Linked DNA regions of Homo sapiens: region 2 is linked to region 1. Evidence: promoter capture Hi-C in 16 types of primary human blood cells and fetal thymus (Javierre and others, 2016). All regions are on one chromosome and are shown on one strand. Each heading gives the region's core, a stretch centred on a gene start or on the middle of the fragment in contact. The rest is flanking DNA. Distances are from core to core; before and after follow the strand shown. Region 1 holds the start of CEBPB (CCAAT enhancer binding protein beta). Region 2 has its middle 14 kb from the start of PARD6B.

The links. Contacts are between HindIII fragments. The CHiCAGO score rates a contact against its expected background, and 5 or more counts as called.
Region 2: a fragment that was not itself captured here is called in contact with the fragment with the promoter of CEBPB in region 1 in 1 of 17 cell types (naive B cells); the score reaches 5.7 in naive B cells.

Annotation. Positions count from the first base shown.
Region 1 is chr20:50,187,945-50,194,940 of GRCh38, forward strand. CEBPB (CCAAT enhancer binding protein beta) reads left to right here and starts at 2,886. Exons shown (of 1, transcript NM_005194.4): 1 at 2,886-4,724. The coding sequence starts at 3,090. The coding sequence ends at 4,127. CEBPB-AS1 (CEBPB antisense RNA 1) reads right to left here and starts at 4,125. Exons shown (of 7, transcript NR_125739.1): 1 at 3,720-4,125; 2 at 3,324-3,478; 3 at 2,054-2,341; 4 at 1,512-1,617; 5 at 599-683. RefSeq lists silencers at 2,419-2,828, 2,788-3,082, 2,909-3,118, 3,259-3,698, 4,119-4,228 and an enhancer at 5,593-6,154. The HindIII fragment of the contact is 16,423 bases long and covers 1-6,996 here.
Region 2 is chr20:50,714,089-50,721,084 of GRCh38, forward strand. No RefSeq gene overlaps it. Among named protein-coding and RNA genes, the nearest start is that of PARD6B, 14 kb to the right of the region's middle. The HindIII fragment of the contact is 416 bases long and covers 4,203-4,618 here.

The sequences.
Region 1 (6,996 bases), core at 1,636-4,135:
ACTCACATTGCCAGGCCTGTTATGACAAACCCAAGAGGGAAAGTCAGACTGGAAAGATTTTATTCCTTCTCATCCTTTCATGTGACCTGGAGCAGACACACTTAGCTCTTCTGGGCCTCAGTTTCCTCATCTATAAAGTGGAGATAATGATAAGACTGTGGCCTGGCGCAGCGGCTCACACCTGTAATCTCAGCACTTTGGGAGGCTGAGGCAAGAGGGCCACTTGAGGCCAGGCGTTCGAGAAAAGCCTGAGCAACAGAGTGAGACATATCCATCTCTACAAAACATTGAAAAATATGAAAAAAGAAGAAGAAAAAAGACCTGCCTCCTACAAATTATCAGTAGGATTAAATGAGTTAATACATGCAAAGAGCTTGGAATGTGGTTCAGAGAAGGTGGAAGTTTGGCCTAAGAACACACAGCAAATCCTCCAATTAGCTTCAGTTCCCCCATATCTCCCTGCATCTCTTCAGAATCCAGAAAGGGAACGTGGGCGAGTGCTTTGGTTCAGAGAGGGGAGCCATTTTGCCTAAGGTCACACAGCCCAGCTAACGAGGAACCTCTCCTTCTTCTCAGCCTCCTCCATTTATTCACTCACCATTCATCGAGCACCTTCTATGTACCAGGCTCTGTTCTAGGCACCAGGGACACAGTAGTGAAGGCCGTGGGGACAGACAGCAAGACTGGCAGGCAAGATAATTCTGATTATAATGAGAATGGTGACGGAAATGAAGCAGGGGTGTGAGAGGAGTGACTGAGGGCCTAGACTTCCCATGGGAAGGTCAGGGAGGGTTTCCCGGAGGAGGCAGCTTTTGGGCTGAGACCTGAGGAGCTGCCTTGGGCAGAGGTGGGGTGACAGTGTTCTTGGTGCACAGGGAACAGCAAATGCATTCCTTCACTGGTAAATGTTGAGCGTGCTGTGCTCAGGAGTCCCTCGTGGGCCAGCCCTCCCCAAGTGGCAGCCTGCAGGGAGACTGAGGTAGACAGCTAGGATAATGGTGGCTGGCGATAGGGAAGGAAATTCACTAGCAGGTGGGACAGGGAGGGCCTCTCAGAAGCCGTGGCCTCTAGCTCAGCCCTGAGTGTCCCATTTTGCAGTGAGGAAGGGCTGGCCGGGTGGCCCTAGGGAAGCTGCCGCACCCCTCTGGGCCTTGATCCCTCCCCAACCCAGAGGCTGCTGGGAAGACCCAGAAAGCCAGCAGGCTGGGCCAGTGTTTTATCCCCTCCCTCCCTGCCTCCTACCCACCAAGGGTGCCCAGAGATGTCATTTCTCCAGCTCTTGGGGGCGGAGGTCACCCCAGCTCAGCAGATAACACCAAAGGTTGAGCAATGCCCGCCTGCCCGCTGGGGCCAGGGCTGGGGTCAGTGGGCTGGGGATCAGCCCCGGGCAGGCTGGGAGCTCCTGCCTAGGTGGCCTGGGCTAGGAGTGGCAGAGAGGTGGGCCCAGGGAGCTGCCCCAATGGCCTAGGAATGGGTCCGGGAGGGCAAAGGGCCCTCTAACCTGAGCCTACCCAGCAGAGGCGGGCAAGTGGTCAGAAGGCCTTGGGCCTGTGTTCAAGTCCAGGCGGGCCGTTGTCGCTTTCCCGTCTGTGAAATGGCAGCAGCAAAAGCATCTTCCTGGTGGGGTGAAAAAAGTTGAACCTCGGGGTGCAGGCCCACCGTAAGCACAGGGCAGGGACTTGGTAAAAACTTATCTTTCTCTTTCCTTCTCTTTCCTGCATACCACCCCCTCCCGTGAGGCCTCGCTTAAGTCCCTCCCTAGCAACTTCAGAAACAGAAGTTTTTGGCCTCTGGGACTGGCAATAGGTCTTAGGGCTCAGATGAGGGCATTTCATTTGGGATGAATGGGGGACATGCGGCCATGTGACCTTGGTATGCCACGCCATGCTCTCTCTGGGCCTCCACTGGCACAATCCGTGGGGGTCCCGTTCTCTCTGATGTGCAGCCCACAACGTAAGCCTTAGGTTTGGGAGTCTGGTGGGAACAATGCCACCACCACTGACAGTAGCGACACCCTTCATGGATTGCAGCTGGGAGAAGTGAAGTGACTCACCCAAGGTCACACAGTGTGGCAGGGCCGAGCACCCCCCGCCCCTGCCCCATCCCAGGGCCCAGGTCGGGTGGCGCAGCGCGGGGCAAGAGAAGACCCGGGCGTGTCCAAGCCTCGAGCAGGCGGCAGGTGTGGTGGGCGGGGCTAGGGGCGGGGCTCCGTGGACCAGGGTCCAGCCCCAAGCGGGGCGCGATCCTGCCCGGTCGCGCCGACCCCCGGGGTCCTCATATTGTCTGTGGCTTAAGAGGGGAGTCGTCACAGGCGTCAAGTCTTCTTTCTAAAGCCGGGGACCTGGGGAGGAGGTGGGAGTTTACGGGAGGAAGGGCCACGGAGATGGGTCGCTTCTCCTGGAGCTAGAGCTGCGGGCTGGGGTCTCCAGGGTTCGGCCCGGGGAGCCGACCCTGGTCGGCCGTCGGGGCTCTGCTCGGCCCTCCTGAAACCTCCGCCTCCTCCAGCAGGGGGCGGGCCGGGGCCGCGTCTCGGGGGGAAGGCGATCAGGTCGCCCCCTCCTCCGATTCCCCCGCCTTCCAGGACAGCCTCCAGCCCAGAGGGGCGGTCCGGGGGCGGGGTCGCACCGCCCCCTCTCGCTCCCAATCCCGGGGCGGCCGGGCGGGGGTGGGCAGGGGGCGTGAGGCCGCCCCTGCGTCCCGGGGGCCCCCCGAAAACGCGCTCCGGGTGCCCGGTCCCTCCGCTGCGCCCTGCCGCCGTCCTCCCGGGGGTCTCGGGCGGCCGCGGCCGTGTCCTTCGCGTCCCGGCGGCGCGGCGGGAGGGGCCGGCGTGACGCAGCGGTTGCTACGGGCCGCCCTTATAAATAACCGGGCTCAGGAGAAACTTTAGCGAGTCAGAGCCGCGCACGGGACTGGGAAGGGGACCCACCCGAGGGTCCAGCCACCAGCCCCCTCACTAATAGCGGCCACCCCGGCAGCGGCGGCAGCAGCAGCAGCGACGCAGCGGCGACAGCTCAGAGCAGGGAGGCCGCGCCACCTGCGGGCCGGCCGGAGCGGGCAGCCCCAGGCCCCCTCCCCGGGCACCCGCGTTCATGCAACGCCTGGTGGCCTGGGACCCAGCATGTCTCCCCCTGCCGCCGCCGCCGCCTGCCTTTAAATCCATGGAAGTGGCCAACTTCTACTACGAGGCGGACTGCTTGGCTGCTGCGTACGGCGGCAAGGCGGCCCCCGCGGCGCCCCCCGCGGCCAGACCCGGGCCGCGCCCCCCCGCCGGCGAGCTGGGCAGCATCGGCGACCACGAGCGCGCCATCGACTTCAGCCCGTACCTGGAGCCGCTGGGCGCGCCGCAGGCCCCGGCGCCCGCCACGGCCACGGACACCTTCGAGGCGGCTCCGCCCGCGCCCGCCCCCGCGCCCGCCTCCTCCGGGCAGCACCACGACTTCCTCTCCGACCTCTTCTCCGACGACTACGGGGGCAAGAACTGCAAGAAGCCGGCCGAGTACGGCTACGTGAGCCTGGGGCGCCTGGGGGCCGCCAAGGGCGCGCTGCACCCCGGCTGCTTCGCGCCCCTGCACCCACCGCCCCCGCCGCCGCCGCCGCCCGCCGAGCTCAAGGCGGAGCCGGGCTTCGAGCCCGCGGACTGCAAGCGGAAGGAGGAGGCCGGGGCGCCGGGCGGCGGCGCAGGCATGGCGGCGGGCTTCCCGTACGCGCTGCGCGCTTACCTCGGCTACCAGGCGGTGCCGAGCGGCAGCAGCGGGAGCCTCTCCACGTCCTCCTCGTCCAGCCCGCCCGGCACGCCGAGCCCCGCTGACGCCAAGGCGCCCCCGACCGCCTGCTACGCGGGGGCCGCGCCGGCGCCCTCGCAGGTCAAGAGCAAGGCCAAGAAGACCGTGGACAAGCACAGCGACGAGTACAAGATCCGGCGCGAGCGCAACAACATCGCCGTGCGCAAGAGCCGCGACAAGGCCAAGATGCGCAACCTGGAGACGCAGCACAAGGTCCTGGAGCTCACGGCCGAGAACGAGCGGCTGCAGAAGAAGGTGGAGCAGCTGTCGCGCGAGCTCAGCACCCTGCGGAACTTGTTCAAGCAGCTGCCCGAGCCCCTGCTCGCCTCCTCCGGCCACTGCTAGCGCGGCCCCCGCGCGCGTCCCCCTGCCGGCCGGGGCTGAGACTCCGGGGAGCGCCCGCGCCCGCGCCCTCGCCCCCGCCCCCGGCGGCGCCGGCAAAACTTTGGCACTGGGGCACTTGGCAGCGCGGGGAGCCCGTCGGTAATTTTAATATTTTATTATATATATATATCTATATTTTTGTCCAAACCAACCGCACATGCAGATGGGGCTCCCGCCCGTGGTGTTATTTAAAGAAGAAACGTCTATGTGTACAGATGAATGATAAACTCTCTGCTTCTCCCTCTGCCCCTCTCCAGGCGCCGGCGGGCGGGCCGGTTTCGAAGTTGATGCAATCGGTTTAAACATGGCTGAACGCGTGTGTACACGGGACTGACGCAACCCACGTGTAACTGTCAGCCGGGCCCTGAGTAATCGCTTAAAGATGTTCCTACGGGCTTGTTGCTGTTGATGTTTTGTTTTGTTTTGTTTTTTGGTCTTTTTTTGTATTATAAAAAATAATCTATTTCTATGAGAAAAGAGGCGTCTGTATATTTTGGGAATCTTTTCCGTTTCAAGCATTAAGAACACTTTTAATAAACTTTTTTTTGAGAATGGTTACAAAGCCTTTTGGGGGCAGTAATTGGCTTTTGTTTTTTATTTTTTTACTTTATTTTGGATTTGTAGGATTTTGTTTTTGCGTTTCTGGTGTGTAGGGGGTTGTGTGTGGGGGGCTGCTGTTATTTTTGGAGGTTTTGGTGGTTGGGTGGGGGTGTTGCAGCTGGTTTTTCTGCCTCCTCTGCTACTCCCCCTCCCACACACACAGGGTCTGCTTGAGATGGGGTTCCAGCCCCGGGGGAAAGGGGAGAAGAGTAATGGGTCAGGCATTCAGGCTGACTCAGAGCCCCTAGGCGCCGGGACGGGTGGCTGGGAACCCTGCTTGAGAAGAGATTCCGGAGCCTCTGGCTGGTCCCGAGTGTCAGGCTTGGGTTTGGAAGGGCTGGGAGGTCTGTGACCCCTGCCCTGTGTTTGGGGACTAGGTAGGCAGGCCTGTGACTGTAGGAGGAGGGGGTTCAGGTCTTGGTCCTGCTGAGCCCGAGTCAGGGCAGATGCTTTTGGTCAGTGTAGTGGGGTGGGTTGTTTAAAACACAGTTTGTGTATACATGTGTATTTTAAAGAGGGGAGCCTGGGTGTGTGGGCGAGTCTGTGTTTGTGTGTCCCTGGCCAGCAGGAGGGGAGAGGCCAGGCCAGGTGGAGAGAGGTGGGGGAGGGGTTCCCACACTTTGATTACCTTTCCTGAGGATGGGAGGCTCATCACTTGCTCTCTTTGCCCAGACTTGGACACTGAGCCCACCTCACCTGCCTGCTCAAGGTGGCTGAGCCCAGGCACAAACGTGGGGCTGCTAGCCCTGATTCCCTGGGACAGGCTCCTCTTCCCTGCCCACTGATCCCTTTGCCCCTTCCGGCTTCTCACCGCACCCCCTACTCCCATCCAGCCCTGGATGGCATTCCTGAGAGTTGAGGATGTAGATGGATGTGAGTGGATACATGTACAGCGTCCCACAGTGCCTGGCACGCAAGAAGTGTTATATAAGCGCTTGCTCTTGTTATTATTTTTTGCTGGGAAGCTGCTGGCATTTGGCACCCCAGTCTCCAGTGCAGCGCCAGTGTGGCCAGTACTTGCCAGGGGCCGGCATCTGGTAAACACTGGACCTGCCCCATCCCATTTAGACCTCACAATAACCTTTGGGAAGGTGGGGATTGTTATGACGCCTGTTTTTAGAGGTGGGGAGCAGCTTTGGGCTGTCCGATCCCTATGGGCAAGACACTGGTTGGGGGTTGCCCTGCCCTGAGGAATTCAGGGGCAGCAGGCATCGTAGCCTGGTTTGCCAAGGACCTGGGGCGGTCTGGGATCTCAGGAGCAGTTGCTGATACCGTGGTTCGCGAATGGGAAATGCTTTGCCCCTCCTTTTCCTTTTGGGGGCCTGGTTGTGCTTTCCCTGTGGGAGCCTGGGATGTGGGGAACAGACAGCGACACTCATCCCCCACCGCCACAAAGCGGAGGATTCCTATAAGCTCCACCTCCCTAATGCCAGTGTCTCCTGATGGTGGCTCGAGGGCTATGCAGATTGCTGGACACAGATAACCTCACTTCAACCTGGGACCTGCAGCGTGGCCCTGACCACGTCCCCTCCCAGCCCTGGGCAACTGGACAACTGGCCGGGCATGCCTTCAAAGCCTCGAAGTCAGTTCAGTCCCAAGCCCCACTGGTCTCGATGGTTTCTGTCAGTAGCAGCGACAGCAATGTGGGCTTGACCTCAAGGATTTACTTGCTGAAGGCAGAGGCTGAGGGGCTGGACCTAGGGAAGGAGGGAGGTGGAGAGGGTCGAAATTGAGGAACAAATCTCAAATCCCTGCTCCCTCCTTTGTCACCAAGAGTTGGCTGGTGGCCACTGCTCACCCAAATGAGGTGAGAGGGAAGCAGCCTGGCCAGACGGTGCCCCTCTTCCGCCCCCGTCTGCCCCACAGCTTCGCTTCTGTTTCCCCAGTGCTGTCCTGGAACCAGCGTTGAGTCAGTTCTTCACACACTCACATCTTGCTCTCATCCACAGTACCCCACAGAAGGTGCTAGACCCATTTCTAAAAGCACACATTGAGGTCCACAGAAGTGAGGTTTGTGCTCAAGGTGGGCTAGGTGGAGCAGGTTACAAAACCATCCGACTCCCAAGTCTATGGGGAAAGTTTGGGGCTGGGAGCCTGGTTTGTAATCCCAGTTCCTGTTTAAAATCCCAGGCTCTTCTTGGAGGGCTCCTTGCCTGACCTCAAGTTCAGGCACTCCAAGCCCCAGAACTGCAAACATCAGTTTCACAGTTTGGAAGCAACAGAAAGTGAA
Region 2 (6,996 bases), core at 3,161-5,660, 530 kb after region 1:
TCAAAGCTTGTGCTTCACTCCCTCTACCTAGCTGTAGCTGTAGGATGATTTGACAAGGGACTTGAAGATACAATCTCAAGGACAGAGGTTTGTTTTTTTTTGTTTTTTTGTTTTGAGATAGAGTCTCGCTCAGTCACCCAGGCTGGAGTGCAATGGTGCGATCTCGGCTCACTGCAAGCTCTGCCTCCCGGGTTCACACCATTCTCCTGCCTCAGCCTCCTGAGTAGCTGGGACTACAGGTGCCCGCCACCATGCCTGGCTAATTTTTTTTGTATTTTTAGTAAAGACGGGGTTTCACCGTGTTAGCCAGGATGGTCTCGATCTCCTGACCGCGTGATCAGCCCGCCTTGGCCTCCCAAAGTACTGGGATTATAGGTGTGAGCCACCGCGCCCGGCTACTGTTGATTCTTTTTTGTTGGTTGGTTGGTTGGTTTTTGAGACAGAGTCTCGCTCTGTTGCTCAGGCTGGAGCGCAGTGTCCCGACCTCAGCTCACTGCAACCTCCATCTCCTGGGTTCAAGCAATTCTCTTGCCTCAGCCTCCCTAGTAGCTGGTACTACAGGCACATGCCACCACGCCTGGCTAATTCTTGTATCTTTAGTAGAGACGAGGTTTCACCAGACCTTGGCCAGGCTGGTCTCCAACTCCTGACCTCAAGTGATCCACCCGCCTCAGCCTCCCAAAGTGCTGGGATTATAGGCATCAGCCACCGTGCCCAGCCTCTGTCGAATCTTAAACTAAAAAATTAAAGTGTGTATTTTGTATGTCTTTGAGGTTTTAAAATCTTATTTTTCTGGTAATTTATTTTTATTATATTTTACAGCAGTATCCACCTGCAACAGTTGGACAATTTAAAAAACCAGTACTTTAGCACTCTGAGAGGCACGGGGCTGCCGGAGAGAGAAGAGTTGTCTAAACTGAGGAAGGTAGCCAGGCGCGGTGGCTCACGCCTGGGATCCCAGCACTTTGGGAGGCCAAGAGGGCAGATCGCTTGAGCCCAGGAGTTCGAGACCAGCCTGGACAATATAGCAAAACCCCATCTCTATTTAAGTTTAAATAAAGAAGAATTTAAAGAAAAAATAAGGTGTGGCAGGTCCTCCATGTTTGGTGTATGAATGAATACATCACTGAAGGAATGACGTATGAGTGTGAGAGAATCAGCCACATGAAGAAAAATGCCCAGAATCCAGGTTTCTCATTTAGAGCCATTCAAAGGGTGAGAGCTTAGGATGTCAAGTTCATCACCAGACTTGATATGCACATCACTAAACCTGCACCCTTCTGATTTTAAAGATGGAGGTGGGAGACCTTTCTCCCCCAAGTCATAGAACTGATCAACAAAGAAAAAAAAATACCAAAAAGAGCCACATATAAATAACAAGCAATATTTACTGCTCGTGATTTTAAAACTCAGACTAGGTTAGTAGACTAAGATAAACATTCTCCTTACCATTTTCACCAAGTAACAGGAAAAACACAGCCCATATGCACAAACATCCTATTTTAAGGACTGCTGGTTTTTGGGTTTTGTTTTGAGACAGGGTCTCACTGGAGTACAGTGGTGCGGTCATGGCTCATTGCAGCCTCAACCTCCCTGGCTCAAGCAATCCTCCCATCTCAGCCTCCTGAGTAGCTGGGACGACAGTCGAATGCCACCACACCTGGCTAATTTTTTAATTTTTTGTAGAGACAGGGGGTTGCCCAGGCTGGTCTTGCACTCTTGCCTCAGCCTCCCAAAGTATTGGGATTACAGGTGTGAGTCACCACATCCAGTCAAGGACTACTGTTTGAAGTGGAGGCTTTTGAACACACTTACCCTGGGATGATGAAACTGAAGAGTGAGCAGGATTTAGCCCTAGGGTACAAGTTCCTCAACTACCTTGAAGTGCTTCAACTGTGCAGGAAACACCTTCCACCTAAAGTTTCTGCCTCTAAACAGGAGCAAAGATGCCCCACTCAAGAAAAGTTCCAGGCACACCTTGCTCCGTTTTGGAAATTCCCACTGGCACTTTCCAGAAACAAGTAGGTCCCTTTAAACTTAAAGGCACCTGGGGCCAGGTGCGGTGGCTCACGCCTGTAATCCCAGCACTTTAGGAGGCTGAGGCAGGCGGATCACCTGAGGTCAGGAGTTTGAGACCAGCCTGGTCAACATGGCGAAACCCCGTCTCTAGTAAAAATACAAAAATTAGCCGGGCATGGTGGTGCGCACCTGTAATCCCAGCTACTTAGGAGGTTGAGGCAGGAGAATCGCTTGAACCCAGGAGGAGGAGATTGCAGTGAGCCGAGATGGTGCCACTGCACTCCAGCCTGGGTGACAGAGTGAGACTCCATCTCAAAAAAAAAAAAAAAAAAAGGCACCTGGAATATGAAAATTGCATTTTTTTTTCCTGCAAAGTTGTGCAGTAGAAAGCAATGTCAGAGTAGCCCTCAGTCCTCATCCCAGGCTACTCCCATTCTTCTTGGCATAAATCTTTTAGGCAAACCTATTTATTCTCCCCTCTAAAGTGTCAATTTCACATCTGCAAATGGGATCATAATAATAATAGTACCTGGATTAAGGTGAGGATTAAATAGCAAAATGTGTGTAGAACCCTTAGCTTGGGCCTGACACAGTGAGCCTTTGATGAACACAAGCTTGGGGCTGTCTCTAATCACAAGCCAAAATAGAAACCCAGAGAAGTCTGGACCAGTGACAGATACCATTTATTCAGCATGTGCCATGTGCCAGAAACAGTGTTAAGATCTTTATTAGCTGTTGGGATGCTTTTCTTTTTTCTTTTTTTTTTTTTTTAAGAAACAGGGTTGGCTGGGCGTGGTGGCTCATGCCTGTAATCCCAGCACTTTGGGAGGCTGAGGTGGGTGGATCACTTGAGGTCAGGAGTTTGAGACTAGTCTGGCCAACATGGTGAAACCCCATCTCTACTAAAAATATAAAAATTAGCTGGGAGTGGTAGCAGGCACCTGTAATCCCAGCTACTAGGGAGGCTGAGGCAGAAGAATCACTTGAACCCAGGAGGCAGAGGTTGCAGTGAGCAGAGATTGTGCCATTACACTCCAGCCTGGGCGACAAGAGCAAAATTCTGTCTCAAAAAAAAAAAAAAAAAGAAAGAAAGAAAAAGGAAAGAAAGGAAAGAAGAGAAAGAAAAGAAAAGAAAGAAAGAAAGGAAGAGAAAGAAAGAAACAGGGTCTTGCTCTGTCACCCAGGCTGGACTACAGTGGCACAATCATAGCTCACTGCAGCCTCAAAATTCTGGGCTCAAGCAATCCTCCCACACCAGCCCCTCAAAGTGCTGGGATTACACACATGAGCCAGCATGCCCAGCGCTAGTGGAATTCCATTTTTTCTTTTTTTCCTGTGTGTGTTTTTTGTTTGTTTGTTTGAGACAGGGTCTCACTGTGTTGTCCAGGCTGGAGTGCAGTGGCACAAACATAGCTCACTGTGGCCTCAACCTCCTGGGTTTAAGTGATCCTCCTTCCTCAGCCTCCCAGTTAGCTGGGACTACAGTCATGCAACACCACGCCTGGCTAATTTTTGTATCTTTTGTAGGGATGGGATTTCACCATGTTGCCCAGGCTGGTCTCAAACTCCTGAACTCAAGCAATCCTCTCCTCAGCTTCCCAAAGTGCTGGGATTCCAGGTGTGAGCCGCCACACCCAGTTTGGTAGAATTCTTAGTACAACTCTTTGGAGTAGCTACTCTCAGTGTCTCATTTTATTTTACTTTTTATTTATTTATTTTTGAGACAGGCTCTCCCTCTTGTCACCCACGCTGGAGTGCAGTGACATGATCACAGCTCACTGCAGCCTCGACCTCCCAAGCTCAAGTGATCCTCCCACCTAAGCTTCCCGAAGAGCTTGGAATACAAGTGTGTGTTACCACACCTGGCTAATTTTGCAGAGATGAGGTCTCACTATGTGGCCTAGGCTAGTCTCAAACGCCTGGGCTCAAGTGATCCTTCCACCTTGACCTCCCAGAGTGCTGGGATTCCAGGTGTGAGCCACTGTGCCTGGCCCTGCATCTAATTTTAGAGAGCCAGAAAGGTGAGGTCCCCTGTCCAAGCTCTCCCAGCTCAGAGAGACTCCCTGCCTTGCTCCCCATCACCCCACTTGCATGACGTTCATGCTGCCCTCTTCTGTCCTCTTCTGTGTTTCTCAGCCTGAAAGCGTGGGCATCAACTCTGGCTGGCTTTGTTGTTGTTCTCAAGCTTCTGTCATCATTGGTATAATTTTACATAAACTTGGCATTCCTTTAAATTTCAGAAAATATGTTCACTTCTTAAATATCTCCTGGGGGAGATAAGAGTTCTATAAATGATTTCGTTCTCCCCGCCTTCGTGTTGAACTTAAAAAGGCGAAGTCACTGGATCTCCGTTAACAAGTCATGTTGTTTATTGGTTTATTTTCATTTTGGAAACTCTTCTCCATGGTTAACCACTCTTCCTCCTCCTTAAAAATTCCCATGAGGAATTCGGATCAGACGCTGGGGCTGTGGGGCAGATCCCCGGGAGGATATCATGTTTCTAGAAGGCTCCTGGAAGCCAACAAGCATTGCAACCTGACTCTTAACTGACTTTTTACCTGTAGGATTATCTCGGGGCAGGAGGAAAAAGACACAGGCAAGCTTTCTGGTCCCAAATAAAATGATGTATTTCGTGAAGGAAGAAAGTTTTAAACTAATAATAGAAATTCATTTGACCATAAAAAAGGCAATATAAAAGGGTAAGGACTCTGGAACCCAACTGCTTGGGTTTCAATACCACACAGCTCTGCCACTTATCTGTGTGATGCTGGCCAAGCTATTTAACGTCTCTGTGCCTTTATTTCCAATCTATAAATTGAGGATGATAACAGTACCTAAATCCATATGTTTTGATGAAGATAAAATAGGGTATACAAGGGACTGGAAGGTTTCTTGGGACTCTCAGGACTATAACTGGGAAAGTCACAAGCAAACTGATATGTGCCCATCACCTTAAGATGAAATGAGAGGCCGGGTGTGGTGGCTCGTGCCTGTAATCCCAGCACTTTGGGAGGCCGAGGTGGGCGGATCACTTGAGGTCAAGAGTTCGAGACCAGCCTGGCCAACATAGTGAAACTCTGTCTCTACCAAAAAATATAAAAATTAGCTAGGCATGGTGGTACGTGCCTGTAATCCCAGCTACTCAGGAGGCTGAGGCACAATAATCACTTTAACCTAGGAGGCGGGAGTTGCAGTGAGCCGACATGGCACTACTGCACTCCAGCCTGGGTGACAGTTAGACTCCATCTCAAAAAAAAAAAAAAAAAGATGAAATGAGAGTGTATATGTACCTTTATTTTATTTATCTGTTTTTAATTTTAAAATAATTTTTTATTTATTAATTAAGATGGGGTCTCACTGTGTTGCCCAGGCTGGTCTCGAACCTCTAGGCTCAAGGAGTCCTCCCACTTTGGCCTCTCAAAGTGTTGGGATTACAAGCATGAGCCACCAAGCCCAGCCTACATGTACCTTTAGAAACAACACCTGCACATTTTTTTTTTTTAGACGGAGTCTCCCACTGTCGCCCGGGCATGATCTTGGCTCACTGCAACCTCCACCTCCCAGGTTCAAATAATTCTCCTGTCTCAGCCTCCCAAGTAGCTGGGATTACAGGCTCCTGCCACCATGCCCGGCTAATTTTTTGTATTTTTGGTACAGACGGGGTTTCACTGTATTGGCCAGGCTGGTCTTGAACTCCTGACCTTGTGATCTGCTTGCTTCAGCCTCCCAAAGTGCTGGGATTACAGGTATGAGCCACCACGACTGGCCAACACCTGCACATTTTAATGCTCCTTCATCTTTTCTGTTTCTATTCGTGGCTGCCTCCAGCCATGGTTGATTCCTTGCCATTTGTAACTATGGTCCTCATTTCCTCAATATCCACTCTGCAGGGGCCCATGATATGCCTTTTATTCCTATCACTACACTGACTTGTTTCCCAAAGTTCCAAATACATGTCCTGGCCAGTCACGGGACAGCCATTAAGAGAATTTATTAAGTGCCAGGCAAAGAGCTTTTCAACAAATCCTTCAGACTTTTCTTCTTCCTCAATTTTCAGGCGACACGTAACTTAAAGGTTAAAATGGGGATGATAATAGTCTCCTCCCCTTGCGTGAATGCCCACAATGGTTTTTGCTTATCTGTCCACTCCTCCTCTGTCTCTTAATAGTTGAAGAGCCTGGTGTGGTGGCTCCTGCCTGTAATCCCAGCACTGTGGGAGGCAGAGGCAGGTGGATCGCTTGAACCCAGGAGCTGAGGCCAGCCTGGGCAACATAGTGAGACTCCATCTCTACAAAAAAATAAATAAAATTAGGTGGACATGGTGGCACATGCCTGGGGTCCCAGCTACTTTGGGGGGCTGAGGTGAGAGGATCGCTTGGGCCTGGGAAGTCAAGGCTGCAGTGAGCTGTGATTGTGCCACTGCACTCCTGTCTGGGCAACAGAGTGAGACTGTCTCTAAAAAAAAAAAAAAAAAAAAAACACCCAAATAGTTGAATAATATGAATTATAGTGACAATTTTTTGAGAGCTTACTATGTATAATACTAGGCACTATATCAAACCCCTTAAAAATATCTCATTGGATCCTTATGAAAAATCCAAGGAATAGGTACCATTATTATCCCCATTTTACAGATGAAGAAACTGAGTCAGGAAGGCCAGCTCACTTCCCCTAGTGGCAGAATCAGGACTTGAACCCAAGTATGACTCCAGAGTCCTTGCTCCAAGCATTTCACTATTCTGTTTCCTCTTCCTTCTCCTGCCTCAACTGTGCTTTCTGGACAAGTTTCTGCCTTGATGACAAGGCTCTGAGCAGGAAGCCTCACCTCTTCAAGACTCAGTCTGCTCTTCTTTTTTTTTTTTTTTTTTTTTTGAGATGGAGTCTTGCTCTGTTGCCCAGGCTGGAGTACAGTGGCACCATCTCGACTCACCACAAGCTCCACCTCCTGGGTTCACACCATTCTCCTGCCTCAGCCTC